Regions from separate parts of the Homo sapiens genome. Here regions 2 and 3 are each linked to region 1. The links are contacts of gene promoters, found by promoter capture Hi-C in human tissues and cell types (Jung and others, 2019). All regions are on one chromosome and are shown on one strand. The core of a region is centred on a gene start or on the middle of the fragment in contact, and the rest is flanking DNA. Distances in the headings are between cores, read along the strand shown.

Region 1 (4,448 bases), core at 787-3,286:
GTCAAAGCGGTCCCCAAAGACAATGGAGCTGATGACATTGGAGACTGTGCGGCTCAGGAAGAAGGTGGGATCGATATTGGCGCCTGCAGGTGTGGCGGGAGAAGGGGGTTGGGGAGAGAGTCAACTCAGAGGTCTGAGGAGAGTCAGAATTCCAGGAGGCAGGGCCCTGTTGAGCCGAATCCCAGCGCCAGACTCCAGGGCTGGAAGTGCGGGCCCCTTTCCCCACCTAGTCCCCATCCCCAGGCAGAAAGCGCGGGTTCCCGCCCTCGCACTCGGGGTCCCCTACTCACCGTGCGTGCCCCGGAGGGCGTCGATGAGGAAGCCCGCCTCCTCCTGGATGCGTTCCTCGATGCCGCGCTTGCCCACGCCAAAACCCCTTAGGGTGGCGATGGAGAAGCGCCGGAGCTGCTTGGCGCGCTCCCCGTTGCTGAACGCCACGCCTGGGGAGGTGAACGCGGGGGTGGAGAGAGGTCAGGGGGCGGCGGGAGCAGGAGCGGACCAGCTCCAAGGGGCTCCCCAAGGGTGGAGCAGAGAGGGAGTGGGGTGGGAGAGAGATGGATTCAGCGCGAGTGCCCAGGAGAGCTGCAAACTCAGTCAGAGAAACACGAGAGCACGAGAGAGAGAGAGAGAGAGAGAGAGAGAGAGAGAGAGAGAGAGAGAGAGAGAGAGAGAGAGAGAGAGACCGGGTAGAAAGAATAAGAGAATCAGAAGAGAAGCAGAAAGGCCAGACAGACAGATGCAGAGAAACAGAGGGATACGGGGATACTCCATGGAGGAAGGGAAGGAAGTGGGGAGAGAAAGAGAGAGATGGAGGGAGGGGAAGTGAGATATGGGGAGATCTGGGAGGAGGAAATAAAAATGGTGAAAGATTCTTAAGCTGAACTGGAGAAGAGAGAAAAATATGGAGACAGAAACAGAGAGGATCGGGAAGGAGGACAGACAATTACCAGGAGTTGGAGGCTGGAGATGTGGAAGTAGGAATACCCTGAAATCCTAAGACAGAGGAAGAAGTGGGAGAGGGAAGCAGAGAGAGGAGAAACACGGAGAAGCACAGAAGCCGAGAGCGACAAAAAGACAAATGAAGACAGAGGACCAGGGCTGGAAAACAGAAACCCAGGATGTCCTCAGAGATGGAGAGAGAGGGGAAAGAGGAGACTCCAGTGAGAGAGAAGGAGGAGACGGGGCAGAGAGAGGCAGGGAGGAATCACGACAGGGACGCTGGAGACAGGTGAGGGACGCACAGGGAGAGGCCACGATGAAGGGAGATGGGGAGAGAAGACCAGACAGGGGGCTCTGCCATAGCCTCCAGTGGGCAGGAGAGTCAGGGAGAAGGCTGGGGACACGGAGACCATTGCATCCACCTGGCCACCTTCCCCCTCTTGGGCACCCCCTCACCATAGCCTTTGAAGAGCCAGTCGAAGGTGGCCTGCTCGCCTCGCCCGCTGAACTCCTCAGCCTGGTCCACCAGAGCCTCCTTGACGGCATCATGTCCGCACAGCACCACGACCCGCCGGGGCCCCAAGTGAATGGTGAACACAGGGCCATAGCGCTCACTGATCTGTTGGAGGCAGGTGGGAGTGGTTAGAGGGAGCAGCCCCCACTCTGAATGGGCCCAGCACTGAGATATCATGTACTGGGATGCTTCGCCCCCAGGTTCTCACAGTCAGGGAGCTGGACATCCCAAGATCCTGTCTTTCCTGCTAGGACCCTGATGCTGAAACTCCAAGACTCCCTTTCCTAAGACTCTGGTCCACACTGGTCAATCCCCTGCCACAAAGCCCCAGCCAACTGGGCAGCCCCCACCCCGTGCCACCCATCTCCCTGCCTTAGGACACCTTCATGAGGGAGTTGTACATCTGCTCTGTGTTCAGCTGCAGGTAGTTTCCAATGAAGGGCAATGGGGTGGGTCCCGGAGGCAGCTTCCCCCTGCTCTTCCTCTGCCGCCAGACTGACATCAAGACCATCACAGTCAGGCAGGCCAGCAAGGTCACCAGAAGCAGCCCTGAGGCCAGCATGGTGGCAGTGGGATGATAGATGGTGATGGCTGGGGTGGTTTGCCTTTATACTGCCTGAAAAAGAGGGATGGACTTTGGTTGATTATATAATCACCTCATTTCACCTCCCAACTACACCCCAACCCTGAATCCCACACAGCTTAGGACACAGCCAGCAAGGGAGGAGGAGAGGGACCCCAGGGAAGCTGAACAGGGAGGGGAACTCCAGACTAAATCTGGTACTTCAGGAGGGTTGCTGCAGGGCTGTGGATTTAGGAGCGGGCAACAGATAAACTGTGGAACTGAGGAGTTTGGAATATTTGCACAGGGGAGCACCTGGACTTTGGATTTGGGATCTGGGAGTGAGAATGCACCCCAAAGTTGTGGATTTGGGCATTCCACGGGAGAGGAATCCAAAGGTCTGGGTTTTACTAGGGTGAGATGGAAGTGTGGCTGTGCATCTGGGGGTCTTCTGTTGTGGAGGATGCAGGGTTAAGGGTCTCAGGACGGGGGATTCCAGGCATATGGACTTGAAAGTCTTGGGGCTAGGAAGACCCAGGGCTGTGGGTGTGGAGTTTCTGGGAGGTGGAGTGTGTAGCAAGCCCAGCAGGTGCTCCCAGAAAGCCCAGCAGCCCAGCACTGGGCCCAGGGACTGACTTGATTTTGCTTTGACCCAGAGCTGTCTCTTGATGCCCAGAATCCTCATTGGAACCTCAGAGTGAGGCCAGGATGGGTGCCATAGAACCTCCGCTGCCCATCTCTGGCTGGGAAAGGGGCAGAAGACGAGAGCCATATTTCAGAGGAACTTTCCCCACACGTGGAGAAGAGTACCTCATGTTACCAGTTGGCAGAGGGGATTGGCTAGGTCTGGAGAAATAGTAATAACAACCCTCAAATGCTGGAAAAATCTCAAGTGTCCCAAGGGTTGTAATTTACGAAGAACTCCACTGGTTTCCAACCCAGATTCTTAGGGAAACCCACTAGATTGATTGTATCATCCCTATTAATACTATGATTGTTATTTATGTTTCTCATTTTATATAAAGATCTACAGAGGACAGAAAACAGACAGTGGGCAGGGGACATGTGTGAGTGGCCCTGAACTCCCATCTCTCTTGCTCTGCGTCTTTAGTTCCACTTTCTGGATTTGGTTTTCCTGCCAGTGGAAAGGGAGTGTTTGGGAAGAGAAGACCACGTTTGAGGGTGAGTTAAGTCTCCTTTAAGGGCGATTCCTGCTTTGTCAGGGGCTACTACTATTAGTAGGCAGAGGGAACAATCGCAGAAGAGATTGGGGTAAACTCCAGTATTAGGCACAGAGGCAGATCCTGGGGTGGGTGTGAGTGGAGAAGGGATGAGTAGCCCTCCTGTCCTTCCCTCAAGGAAATTCTTCCTTAGTAAACAGGACAGTTACCCTTTGGTGAGCATGGTCATATATGGGAAGATTAAGTCTAGGTGTGTATGATCTGGTTGAATCTTTGTAACAGTGAGGTTGGTTCATCATGATCATCCTCATTTTGAAGATGAGCAGATCTAGACTCCATAAATCCTCTTGAGTGAGGTCACACAGGGAGTAAGTGAGGGAGCTGGGATGTGAACTTTCTCCTCGCCCCCCTTCATTGACTGGCCTAGATCACCCTGGGAGTCAAGTGCAGGCCAGGCTTAGCAGGAGGTGAGTGCTGGGACTGGCATCAGCAGTGGACACACTGATGACATTGGCGGGTTCTGATATCAGCATCAGGTGTGTCCAGGGAGGGAAAGGCATCGTGTTGGCTTTGGGACTGCCCCCAGGTGTATGCGAGGATGGGAAACAAGTTGGCACTGAACTTGACACCAGGAGAATATTGAAGTCATGTTTGGTGCCAAGAGGGCTCTGTGTGTTGTCTCAGGTGTCATTGAGGGCATAAGAGAGTCCTGCTTCAGGAGGGCATAAGAGTGGCACCATATAGGGTCTGAGGTTGGTCCCAGTGGGCTCTGACATGAGCATGAGGCAGGTGTTGATATTGGTCCTATGTGGGTCTGAGATGAGCCTCAGCCAGACCCTGAGAGGGGCTCCAGATGGGCACAGGACAGGCTCTGATGTTTGGACCTTCCACTGTTGCACCTCTCCTCTGGGTCACCAACTGTGGACAAGTGGAGGTGGGTGAGGTTGGCCCCCCCAGGACTGACATCTTGCTCAAAGTGTTCTAGGATGCTGAGCTCTGAGACCTGTGTGGAGGGAACAAAGATCAGAGAACAAAGGGGACAGAGGAAAGTTGTTTGTTGATTTTGGAGGGGAAGAGGTGGGAAGGAGGATTAGCACCAGCTTGGCAGATATCAATCCCTCTAATCCTGGTCACCAGCCTGCACCTGGGCTGGCCCTAAGCCTGGGCTCCTCCTTTTCCTTCTAGTTCCTTAAAAAGGTGGGAGATAGAAATTCGGGAACTTTGTTTCTCAGTGAGGTTGGCACTAGGAAGT
Region 2 (4,933 bases), core at 2,395-4,894, 400 kb after region 1:
CAGGGCAGCTGTGGAGAGGGGCAGAGGGGTGGCTGGGAGATGCCCAGCTGGCAGTCCATGGGAGCAGACGGGCTAGAAGTTGGGGACAGAGGTGTCTAGGGGTCTGGTCTGGGGACTGGTGGGGCCACCTCTGAGACAGGAACAGGAAGAGGAGGTGATAACCCCTTACACACAGGCCCCTTGGGGCCCTCTCTGCCGGCCACTGAGGCACAAAGCTGAGACCCTTCTTCTCCCCACTGACACCCTCCCCTCCCACCCAGGCCTGCAGCCTTTGCCACTTTATAAAAGCCCTGGCTTCTGAGGACCACAGGCCTGACAGATGGCCAGACATGCTCGGGCAGGGGGAGCAGAGAGGGAATGGAATTAATCCCGAATCCCCCTCCTCACAAAAAAGGGCAACCCAGTAGTGAGTGGTGTGACCCGGTTCCACTCCCTACTCCGGGTCTGCTTCCCCTTCTGTGAAATAGGGACCCCCGTGCCCACCTCTTAATAATGGTAGATTATAGTATTTACGGTGCTTCCTGCATGAGACACAGCGCCAGGCAGGCCACAGGCATCACCTTCTTTATCCTCCCAACAGCCCCATGAGGAAGGCACTTTTGGCATCCCCACTTCACAGATGAGAAAGTGGAGGCCCAACAGGCCGGCAGGTGGCAGAGCTGGGACGGAACCCTAGCCAGCTGGCCCCAGCTGGGCATCTCTCCATGCCCACAACTCCTGCCCTGTGTGTGTGAGCTCATGGCTGGAGAGCTGCTCTGCTCCACACGCTCATTTGCTAAAGCAAGGTTCACCCAGGGCCTCCTCAGCACCAGACCCTGTGCCCCGTGCGACTAAACCCAACTGGGATCCTTGCTCTCACGGGGCTCAAAGTCCAGTGTGGGAGACAGAGAGATGGCCCCTGGCAACTTTGGATGCAGTTCTGGGTCACGCTCATACCCGTCCAGTTGAGTGTTTGGACTCACCAGCAGCCCTGACACTTGTTTCTTGCACTGTTTCACTGTGGCAGTTCCCGGGCAGGCCCCACATTGCCCTCTAGGTGGGCAGGATCCCTAACCACCTCCACTCCCAGGCTCTGGAAGAGTCTTTAAGGGAGTCACAGACAGGCAAAGTTGGGAGCAGGAAGCTTCCAGGTGAGGGAGGGCCCAGGCAGATGAGAATGGAGGTGGGTACATGGGAGGCCCAGGCTTCCAGCTCCTCTTCTCCAGAGCCCCCTTGAGCCCCGGCCTTTGTCCCTCTAACTCCCACCCGTCTCCCCAGGTGGTGAAGGCTGCAGCTGATGGAGACAGAGACTGTGTCCTGCAGAAGTCCAGGGACCTCAAATTCCTCACAGGCTTTGAAACCAAGGTGGGGAGACACTGGGGGAGAAAGGGGCTGGTGTCTGTTGGTGGGGTGCAGTGGGGGGCTGCTTATCTCCACTGAGGAACTCGAGTAGGTGATGGGGCATGTCGATACCCGGGGACTGGGGGACTCTAGGAGGGGCTTGTCTCCACTAGGGAGAATGGAGGCTGTGTGTCTATACCTGGGGAGTGGGTGACTCTAGGAGGGATGCTTATCCATGCTGGGGGCTTTGGGGAGGAGTGGGGGGAGGTGGCTGCCTGACTTCTCAGGAACCCTGGGAACATGGGCACCGTGGATCTGTTCAGGAGGGGCGAAGGCCGCTTCTCTGTTGTAGAGAGAGTAGAGGGCTACTTGTCTGTTGGAGGCTCTGCAGGGAAGTAAGGGGTGCTTACTCGGGGAATAGGCAGCTGCTTGTCTAGTCCAGGCTCTGGAAGGAGTGGAAGCTGCTCACTCTTGGGGGAGTCGGGGCTTGTGTTGATGGTGGAGACTGGAGGGAGTGGAGGCTACACGTTGTTTCTGGGTTATGCAGAGGGCTCTATGTCCACACTGGCTGCCTTTGCTCTCCCCCCACCCCCACTCCCAGGCATTCTCCGACGCCCACGTGGAGGCAGTGATGATCCTGGGGGAGCCTTTCGCCACCCAGGGCCCTTATGACTTTGGGTCGGGGGAAACGGCCCGCCGCATACAGGACCTCATCCCGGTGCTGCTGCGGCACCGGCTGTGTCCCCCACCCGAGGAGACCTATGCCCTGCACCGCAAGCTGGCAGGGGCTTTCCTGGCCTGTGCCCACCTCCGAGCCCACATCGCCTGCAGGGACCTCTTCCAGGACACCTACCACCGCTACTGGGCCAGTCGCCAGCCAGACGCAGCCACTGCCGGCAGCCTCCCCACCAAAGGGGACTCCTGGGTGGATCCCTCATGACAGCCTCCATGGGGGATTCAGTCCCCAGAGCAGGCCGTACCCTGCTGTAGTGCCTCTTATCCCTTCCCCGTCTGCCCTGGGTCAGAGGAGCCCCCTTGGGCTTCCCAGTCTTGCCTGGCTCTCCTCCTTGGCCCAGGAGCTCAGGATCCCTGGGGCTGGGGAACTCCCAACTTCGTGCCCTAGATCCTGCACCTCCCCACTCGAAAGTGGGTATCCGAAAACTAAGCCAGGGAAGCGGTTAACTTATCTTTGCCAACATTTGAGGGAGCCTTGGGCCGCTGCATGTCGTTATGCAGATCAGACTCATCAGGGGGAGCCCTCACCTCTGCCTCAAGCCTCCCGTGGAAGGCGAGATGGTCCTGGAGGCAGTCCTCACCTCTGCCTCCCTCGCTCCTCCAACAGCTGCCTTCTCCCGGGTTCCAGCCTCTCAGTGTGTTGGAGAGGTAGGGGTGCGGGGTGGGGGGGAGCTGAATCTTCAATCGGAATAAAAGCAGCCCTCCCCTTCCCCCAGCTCTTTTCTCTGCGCTAGGGTTGGGGGGAGAGGGGGAGGAGCTCGCCAGCGGCCTCCAGGTGCAGATGGCCAGCCCCCCTGCACCCCCTTGTCTGAAAGCCTCAGCCCTGCCTGTGCCATCTGTTGCCGGGAACCTCCTTCTCGCCTTCCCCACCCCCCCCCACGTGCTGACCACCTGCTCTAAGGGCTGTGGCAGCTGAGGCCTCCCACACACACAGTGCCTCTTGGCTGCGGGCTCCCTCCCCTCACTCCTGGCAACCTCGCCTTTACTAATGGGCTCTAATGTCCCTGCCAGCTGCTTTGCCAAACCCACAGGATTGGCGTAGGGGGCGGCGGGGGCGCCGTAGCGGCCAGAACCGCGCCCTGGTCCCACCCCGGCGCCCCCGTTCCCAAAGCCGAACCGATCGCGCATCAGGACGCCTTGGTCTGTTCACACCCCCTCCCCTTCCTTGCAAAAAGTGCCTCGTCACCGCTCCTGCCCGCCCCCGCCGGGCTGGGGAACCATGGGGTTAGCGGGAAGATTTGGGGGTGTGGGGCGGCAAGGCGCCTCTAGAAGCAACTCTTTCGGACGCGGAGCTGGAGGGGATCTGAGGTCAGGTGTCACGGAGGGAAAGGGAGCCCAGGCCAGGACGGACCGGGGGAAAGGACTCGGCGATGTTCATAGGCATGCTCAGCTCGGGACTGGCCAATGGGCGTGGCGGGGCGGTGGCCGCGCCGGGGAAGGCGGGATGGTGTCTGCGTGTGGGCGGGGTCTTCAGGCCAAGGGGCGGGGCGGGGCGGGACCTTTCTGCATATACGGCAGGCGGCGGGCCAATGGGCGGGGTCGGGGCGGGGAGCCGAGGCCGAGGGACGCTCCCCCGCCCCCGGAACGGAATCCTCCCGGGAGCCGAGGAGGCTCGCGCGCGTGCATCCCGCACCATCCCCCGGCCCCGGGCCCTGGCCGGCGTCAGACCGAGCTGCCGCCGCCACCACCGCAGCAGCAGCAGTCGGGGAGCCAGGCCCAGCCAGGGCCGCGGGAGGCGGGGGCGCCCGGGCCCTGGATGTCCCGCAGCGCGGCGGCCAGCGTGAGAAGGGCGGGAGAGGGGGGCTCGGGTCGGGGGCGGCGCCGCTGCTGATGTGGCGGAGGGTGGGAGGCGGCCGCGGCGCCCGGATGGAGAGAGGGTGCCAAGGCTGGAGAGGGTGGTCCCGGGTGGGGGTCCAGGAACAGGCCCAACAAGCCAAAGCCCAGGAGACCGGGGTCTTGGGCACAGACCCCTGGGCCATCTCTTGCCAAGGCCCTGGAAATAGGGATCCTGGACACAGACCCCCCACAAAACCAAGGACAGGGGTACAGAGATTCTAGGTACAACTCCTAGAACTAGATGGGGATGGAGATGGGGTCGGGGACACAGCCCCCGTATCAAACCAAGGCCTCCAGGACGCGATTCCAGACACAATCCCTACCTCTCCCTGCCTAAGGGGGTCTCAGCACAACAACTGCCTAGGTACGGTCTCGAGGATGGGGTCACTGGGTACAGCGTTCCCACCACGCCAAGGCCTAGGGGGACTCCAAGCACAGCCTGCCCCCAGGTCTCAGAGGCACCCTGGGCACAGCATCCCCCCAATCCTTGGGCGGAGTCCCAGGCACAGCCACTTCTCAAAACAAGGTCCCTGTGCCTGGGACTCCACCCCACCCCAGCCTGAATAAAATAAGGACAATTTCAGGCAACCCCCAATCCCTCCACCCCCTGGCTTGGTCATGGGTCCCAGGGCACAGGATCCCTAGGCCACCCCCTTTGTCCCCAGGGCTGCCCAGCTGTCCAAGAGTGGCCCCACCCGCAGACAATGCACCGCTTCCCCCTCCTGGACCTGGCCCTCAGGCTCCAGGATACAGGCTGGGCTGGGGGCGGCTCCCCAGGGACCGGGTGCAGCCCTGTCTGTCTGCAGTGTCTGCGGTGACGGTGACGGCGGCTTTGTGTGTGGTACCTGGGGGGAAGGGGGGAAGCAAGCGATGGGGAGGTGGCTAGGAGTGTGCCCTGTGTTTGTGTGACTGTGGCTGTGTATGTGTGTGTGTGTGTGCACGCGTACGCTGCAGCTGGTGACTGAGGAATCCTGTGTCGTGTGTGTGTGCTTGTGGTGGTGTCTATGATTGTGTCTGTGACCCTAGTATCTGTGTGACTGTG
Region 3 (4,988 bases), core at 1,316-3,815, 430 kb after region 1:
GGCGCCCCCACCCCGCTTCCTGTTGGGTGATTTTGTTTTGTTTTGTTTTGTTTTTTAAAGCTCCACCCCCAGGAGGCCACAGTTTCTCCGGGAGCCGGCCGCGCAGGACCGGGGACAGCCCTGGCCCCTCGCTGCACAGCGCTGGGACCGCCCCACGGAGCGCGGCGTCTCATGCTCCCTGGGGCCCGCTGCTTCCACTGCCCTGCGCAGGGCCACGCGCCACCCCGGGCTGCCTGGCCGTAACCTACCCCGTCCACCCTCCAGGCGCGCTCGCCGACCTCCCGCACCTGTGGGGCCACGTGGTTGCCGGGAGCGCTCCTCTAGCGTGGTGAAGCAGCGCCCCCTCGTGGTCTTGCGCTCGCGGCGCCTGGGCGGCCGCCCCTCCAAGACTTTGCTAAGGCAGGAAAAGTGTTTAAGAAAAATTAAAATTGTGCTGGGCGCGGTGGCTCACGCCTGTAATCCCAGCACTTTGGGAGGCCGAGGCAGGTGCATTACCTGAGGTCAGGGGTTCAAGACCAGCCTGGCCAAAATGGCGAAACCCCGTCTCGACTAAAAATGCAAACATTAGCCGGACGTGGGGGCGGGCGCCTGTAGTCCCAGCTACCCGGGAGGCTGAGGCAGGAGAATCGCTTGAACCCGGTAGGTGGAGGTTGTAGTGAGCCGAAATCGAGCCACTGCACTCCAGTGATAGAGGGAGACTCGGTCTCAAAAAAAAAAAAATTGCTGTCGCATTCATGAACATTATACTTCAGGCCCTGGCTCAGCCATTCACCCCTCTGGGAAGTCCTCCCTGACTGGTCGGGCGCCTCCTTTGGGCTCCTATGGTTCCTTATGCTCCTCAACTGGGCCTGTACCTCCCCGCCCTGGCCCGGATCCGTCTGCCTGTACATCTCCCATCTGGACCTCGACCCCTTTGCCCTCTGCCTGCACCTCACCAGTCCCCGCCCCGACCCCTCTGCCTGTGCCCCCCATTCCAGCCCAACCTCTCTGCCCGGGCTTCCCCCATCCTGGCCTCCCACCCCTCTGCCTGTCCCCTCCCCACCATCCCGCCGTGATGGCTCTAGGCTGTCACTGTCTATAATGGGTCGGCGTCCCCGCCCTGCACAGAAAACCTCATGAGGGCAGGGAAGAGAGCTGTCTTGATAACTACTGAGTCCTCAGTATTACCAAGGTAACATTTATTTCCTCCCTCAACACTGGTTTTGTTTTAACAGCTTTACTGAGGTATAATCTACCTGTCATAAAATTCACCTATTATAAGTGATTTACTGATTTTGGGTGATTTTACAGTTCTGCAGCCATCACAGCCAATTCAAGAACATTTCCATCACTCTGAAAAGATCCCTTCTGCCCATTTGCAGTCGCTCCCTATTCCCTGTCCCAGCCCCAGGCAACCACTGGTCTACTTTCTGTCCCATACATATTCTCTTCTTCATTTTACAAGCATTTTCTGAATATTTATTTTTATCAGCTATTGAGGGCTGAGGGTACACAATGAAACTCACAGGCCCTGCCTTCAGGGAACTCAGAGTCTGGTTATTGTAATAGCTGATGGGAAAATATGTCCATGCACTAATTTCTTCATTCATTCAAAAAACATTTATTGGCCAGGCACTGTGGCTTGTGCCTGTAATCCCAGCACTTTGGGAGGCTGATTGGGGAGGGTCACTTGAGGCCAGGAGTTCAAGACCAGCCTGGAAAATATAGTGAGACCCCCCCCCCCACCCCGATCTCTACAAAAAAATTTTTTTTTTTAATTATCAAGGTGTGGTGGTGCACACCTATAGTCCCAGTAACAGGAAGCTGAGGTGGGAGGATTGCTTGAGCCCAGGAGGTCGAGGCTGCAGTGAGCCATGATTGTGCCACTGCACTCCAGCCTGGGTGACAGAACAAGACCATCTCTACAGAAAAAAAAAAAAAAAAAAAAAAGAGAGAAAAAGAAGGGTCTTCCAAAAATTCATGGAAAATGTGTATTATGAAAAAACTATGCATGGAGTTCAATTTTTTTTTTTTGCACCAAAATAAATTCATACTAACTTGTTATAACTTGTCTGAACAGGACCTAGTTTGAGACACTAAAATAAAACATCAGATTGAAAAGAGCCCCTATCAGAGCAACACGAATTCTAAAATTGAAGCAAGAACAAGCATCAAATTGATGGTGAAGCTTGGGTGGAAGAATGATGAAATCATTGATGTTTTCCAAAAACTTGACAGTGCCCCAGAGAAATCAGCCATTTACAAATGGATAACTCGTTTTAAGAAGGGACAAGTTCGGGCGTGGTGGTTCACGCCTGTAATCCCAATACTTTGGGAGGCTGAGGCCAGCGGATCATTGGAGCTCAGGAATTCGAGACCAGCCTGGGTAACATGGTGAAACCCCATCCGTACAAAAAATACATAAATTAGCTGGGTGTGGTGGTGCACACTTGTAGTTCCAGCTACTCAGGAGGCTGAGGTGGGAGGATCACTTGAGTCTGGGAGGTAGAGGTTGCAGTGAGCCGTGATTGCGCCACTGCACTCCAGCCTGGGTCATGCTGAAGATGAAGCCCACCGTGGCATACCATCCACATCAATTTTTGCAGAAAAAAATTAAATTTGTTTATGCCTTAATTAAAGAGGACTTACAGTTAACAGCAGAAACAATAGCCAACACCATAGACATCTCAATTGGTACAGCTTACACAATTCTTTTTTCTTTTTTTTTTTTTTTTTTTTTGAGACAGGGTTCTCATACTGTCGCCCAGGCTGAGTACAGTGGTGAGATTGTGGCTCACTGCAGCCTCAACCTCCTGGGCTCAAGCGATCCTTCCACCTCAGCCTCCGAAGTAGTTGGAACTACAGGTGCGTGCCAGCACGTTCAGCTAAGTGTCACACGCGTCCCTGTGAAGAGACCACCAAACAGGCTTTGTGTGAGCAACAAGGCTGTTTATTTCACCTGGGTGCAGGCAGGCTGAGTCCAAAAAGAGAGTCAGCAAAGGGTGGTGGGATTATGATTAATTCTTATAGGTTTTGGGATAGGCGGTGGAGTTTGGAGCAATGTTTTGCGGGCAGGGGGCGGATCTCACAAAGTTCATTCTCAAGGATGGGAAGAATTACAAAGAAACTTCTTAAGGGTGGGGGAGATTACAAAGTACATTGATCATTAGGGTGGGGCAGAAACAAATCACAATGGTGGAATGTCATCAGTTAAGGCTATTTTCACTTCTTTTGTGGCTCTTCAGTTGCTTCAGGCCACCTGGATGTATACGTGCAGGTCACAGGCGATATGATGGCTTAGCTTGGGCTCAGAGGCCTGACACTAAATTTTCGTATTTTTTGTAGAGATGGGGGTCTCATTAGGTTTCCCAGGCTGGTCTTGAACTCCTGGACACAAGTGATCCTCCTGCCTCATTCTCCCGAACTGCTGGGATTACAGGCTTGAGCCACCTCACCCGGCCTCAGCTTACACAATTCTGACTGAAATTAAAGCTAAACAAACTTTCCACTCGATGGGTGCCAGAACGGTCGCACCCAGATCAGCTGCAGAGAAGAGCAGAGCTTTCCATGGACATGCTAAACAAGTGAGATCGAGATCCTAATGCATTTCCTTGAAGGATTGTAACGGGAAATGATACATGGTTTCACGGGTGCAATCCTAAAGACAAATCGTAATCAGAGAATGATTGCCAAGAGCGGGGAAGTGATCCAGTCAAGGCAGAAGCACACTGGTCAAGAGCAAAGGTCATAGCAACAGTTTTTGGGGATGCTCAAGGCATTTTGCTGGTTGACTTTCTGTAGGGTCAAAGAATAATAAGATCTGCTTATTATGAGAGTGTTTTGAGAAAGTTAGCCGAAGCTTTAGTAGAAATAAGCCTGGGAAGCTTCACCAGAGAGTTCTTCTCCAGCATGTCTACGCTTCTGCTCATTCTCCTCATCAAACGAGCAATTTTACAAGTTTTGATGGGAAATTATTAGGCATCCACTTGGCAGTCCCAATTTGGCTCCTTCTGACTTTTTGTTTCCTAATCTTAAAATCTTTGAAGGGCACCCATTTTTCTTCAGTTAAGAATGTAAAAAGACTGGGCTGGGCGGAGTGGCTCACGCCTGTAATCTTAGCATTTTGGGAGGCCAAGGAGGGTGGATCACCTGAGGTTGGGAGTTCAAGACCAGCCTGACCAACATGGCAAAACCCTGTCTCTACTAAAAAAAAAAATACAAAAATTAGCCAGGTGTGGTGGCTCATGACTGTAATCCCAGCTAGTCGGGAGGCTGAGGCAGGAGAATCACTTGAACCCAGGAGGTGGAGGTTGCAGTGAGCCGAGATCATGCCACTGCACTCCAGCCTGGGCAACAAGAACAAAAAAAAAAGGCCTGGCACAGTGGCTCACAACTGTAATGCTAGCACTTTGGGAGGCCGAGGCGGGCAGATCACCTGAAGTTAGGAGTTTGAGACCAGCCCGGCCAACTTGGCAAAACCTCGTCTCTACTAAAAAAAAAAAAATTAGCCAGATGTGGTGGTACATGCCTGTAGTCCCAGCTACTCAGGAGGCTGAGGCAGGAGAATGGCTTGAACCCGGGAGGCAGAGGTTGCAGTGAGCCGAGATCATACCACTGCACTCCAGCCTGAGCAACAGAGTGAGATTCCATCAAAAAAAAAAAGAAAGAGAAAATGTAAAAAGGCTGCACTGACATGATTAAATTCCTGGGACCCTCAGTTATTTAGGGATAGACTAAATGGCTGGTATAATGGTTTACAAAAGTGTCTTGACTTTGACCTTGATGGAGTTTATGGTGAGAAATAAAGATTTTTTTAAAATTTTTATCTCTTAATTCCATTCTCCATCAACTTTTTGAATTCCCCTCATAACACAATAGCAATTTGTAGCTCATACCTATAAGCTTAGATAGCATACAGTAGCTCATACCTATAAGCTTAAGTAGACATTTACATAACTTTTAGATATCTATAGTACGTAGATAGCTACAGATCAATGTAGATGTCGAAA

What was found. Contacts are between HindIII fragments. The study calls those that stand out against the background at their distance.
Region 2: a contact is called between the fragment with the promoter of NUMBL here and the fragment with the promoter of CYP2A13 in region 1, in 1 of the 25 tissues and cell types used here (heart left ventricle).
Region 3: a fragment that was not itself captured here is called in contact with the fragment with the promoter of CYP2A13 in region 1 in 3 of the 25 tissues and cell types used here (aorta, dorsolateral prefrontal cortex and spleen).

The regions. Positions count from the first base shown.
Region 1 is chr19:41,086,039-41,090,486 of GRCh38, reverse strand. It overlaps CYP2A13 (cytochrome P450 family 2 subfamily A member 13), which reads right to left and starts at 2,036. Exons shown (of 9, transcript NM_000766.5): 1 at 1,836-2,036; 2 at 1,396-1,558; 3 at 291-440; 4 at 1-83. The coding sequence starts at 2,015. The HindIII fragment of the contact is 9,937 bases long and covers 1-4,448 here.
Region 2 is chr19:40,689,362-40,694,294 of GRCh38, reverse strand. It overlaps NUMBL (NUMB like endocytic adaptor protein), which reads left to right and starts at 3,644. Exons shown (of 10, transcript NM_004756.5): 1 at 3,644-3,835. The coding sequence starts at 3,812. It overlaps COQ8B (coenzyme Q8B), which reads left to right. Exons shown (of 15, transcript NM_024876.4): 14 at 1,258-1,344; 15 at 1,922-2,765. The coding sequence ends at 2,260. RefSeq lists silencers at 2,952-3,191, 3,512-3,851 and enhancers at 2,538-3,475, 4,691-4,740, 4,414-4,933. The HindIII fragment of the contact is 7,396 bases long and covers 1-4,933 here.
Region 3 is chr19:40,658,286-40,663,273 of GRCh38, reverse strand. No RefSeq gene overlaps it. Among named protein-coding and RNA genes, the nearest start is that of NUMBL, 30 kb to the left of the region's middle. RefSeq lists a silencer at 77-356. The HindIII fragment of the contact is 4,666 bases long and covers 233-4,898 here.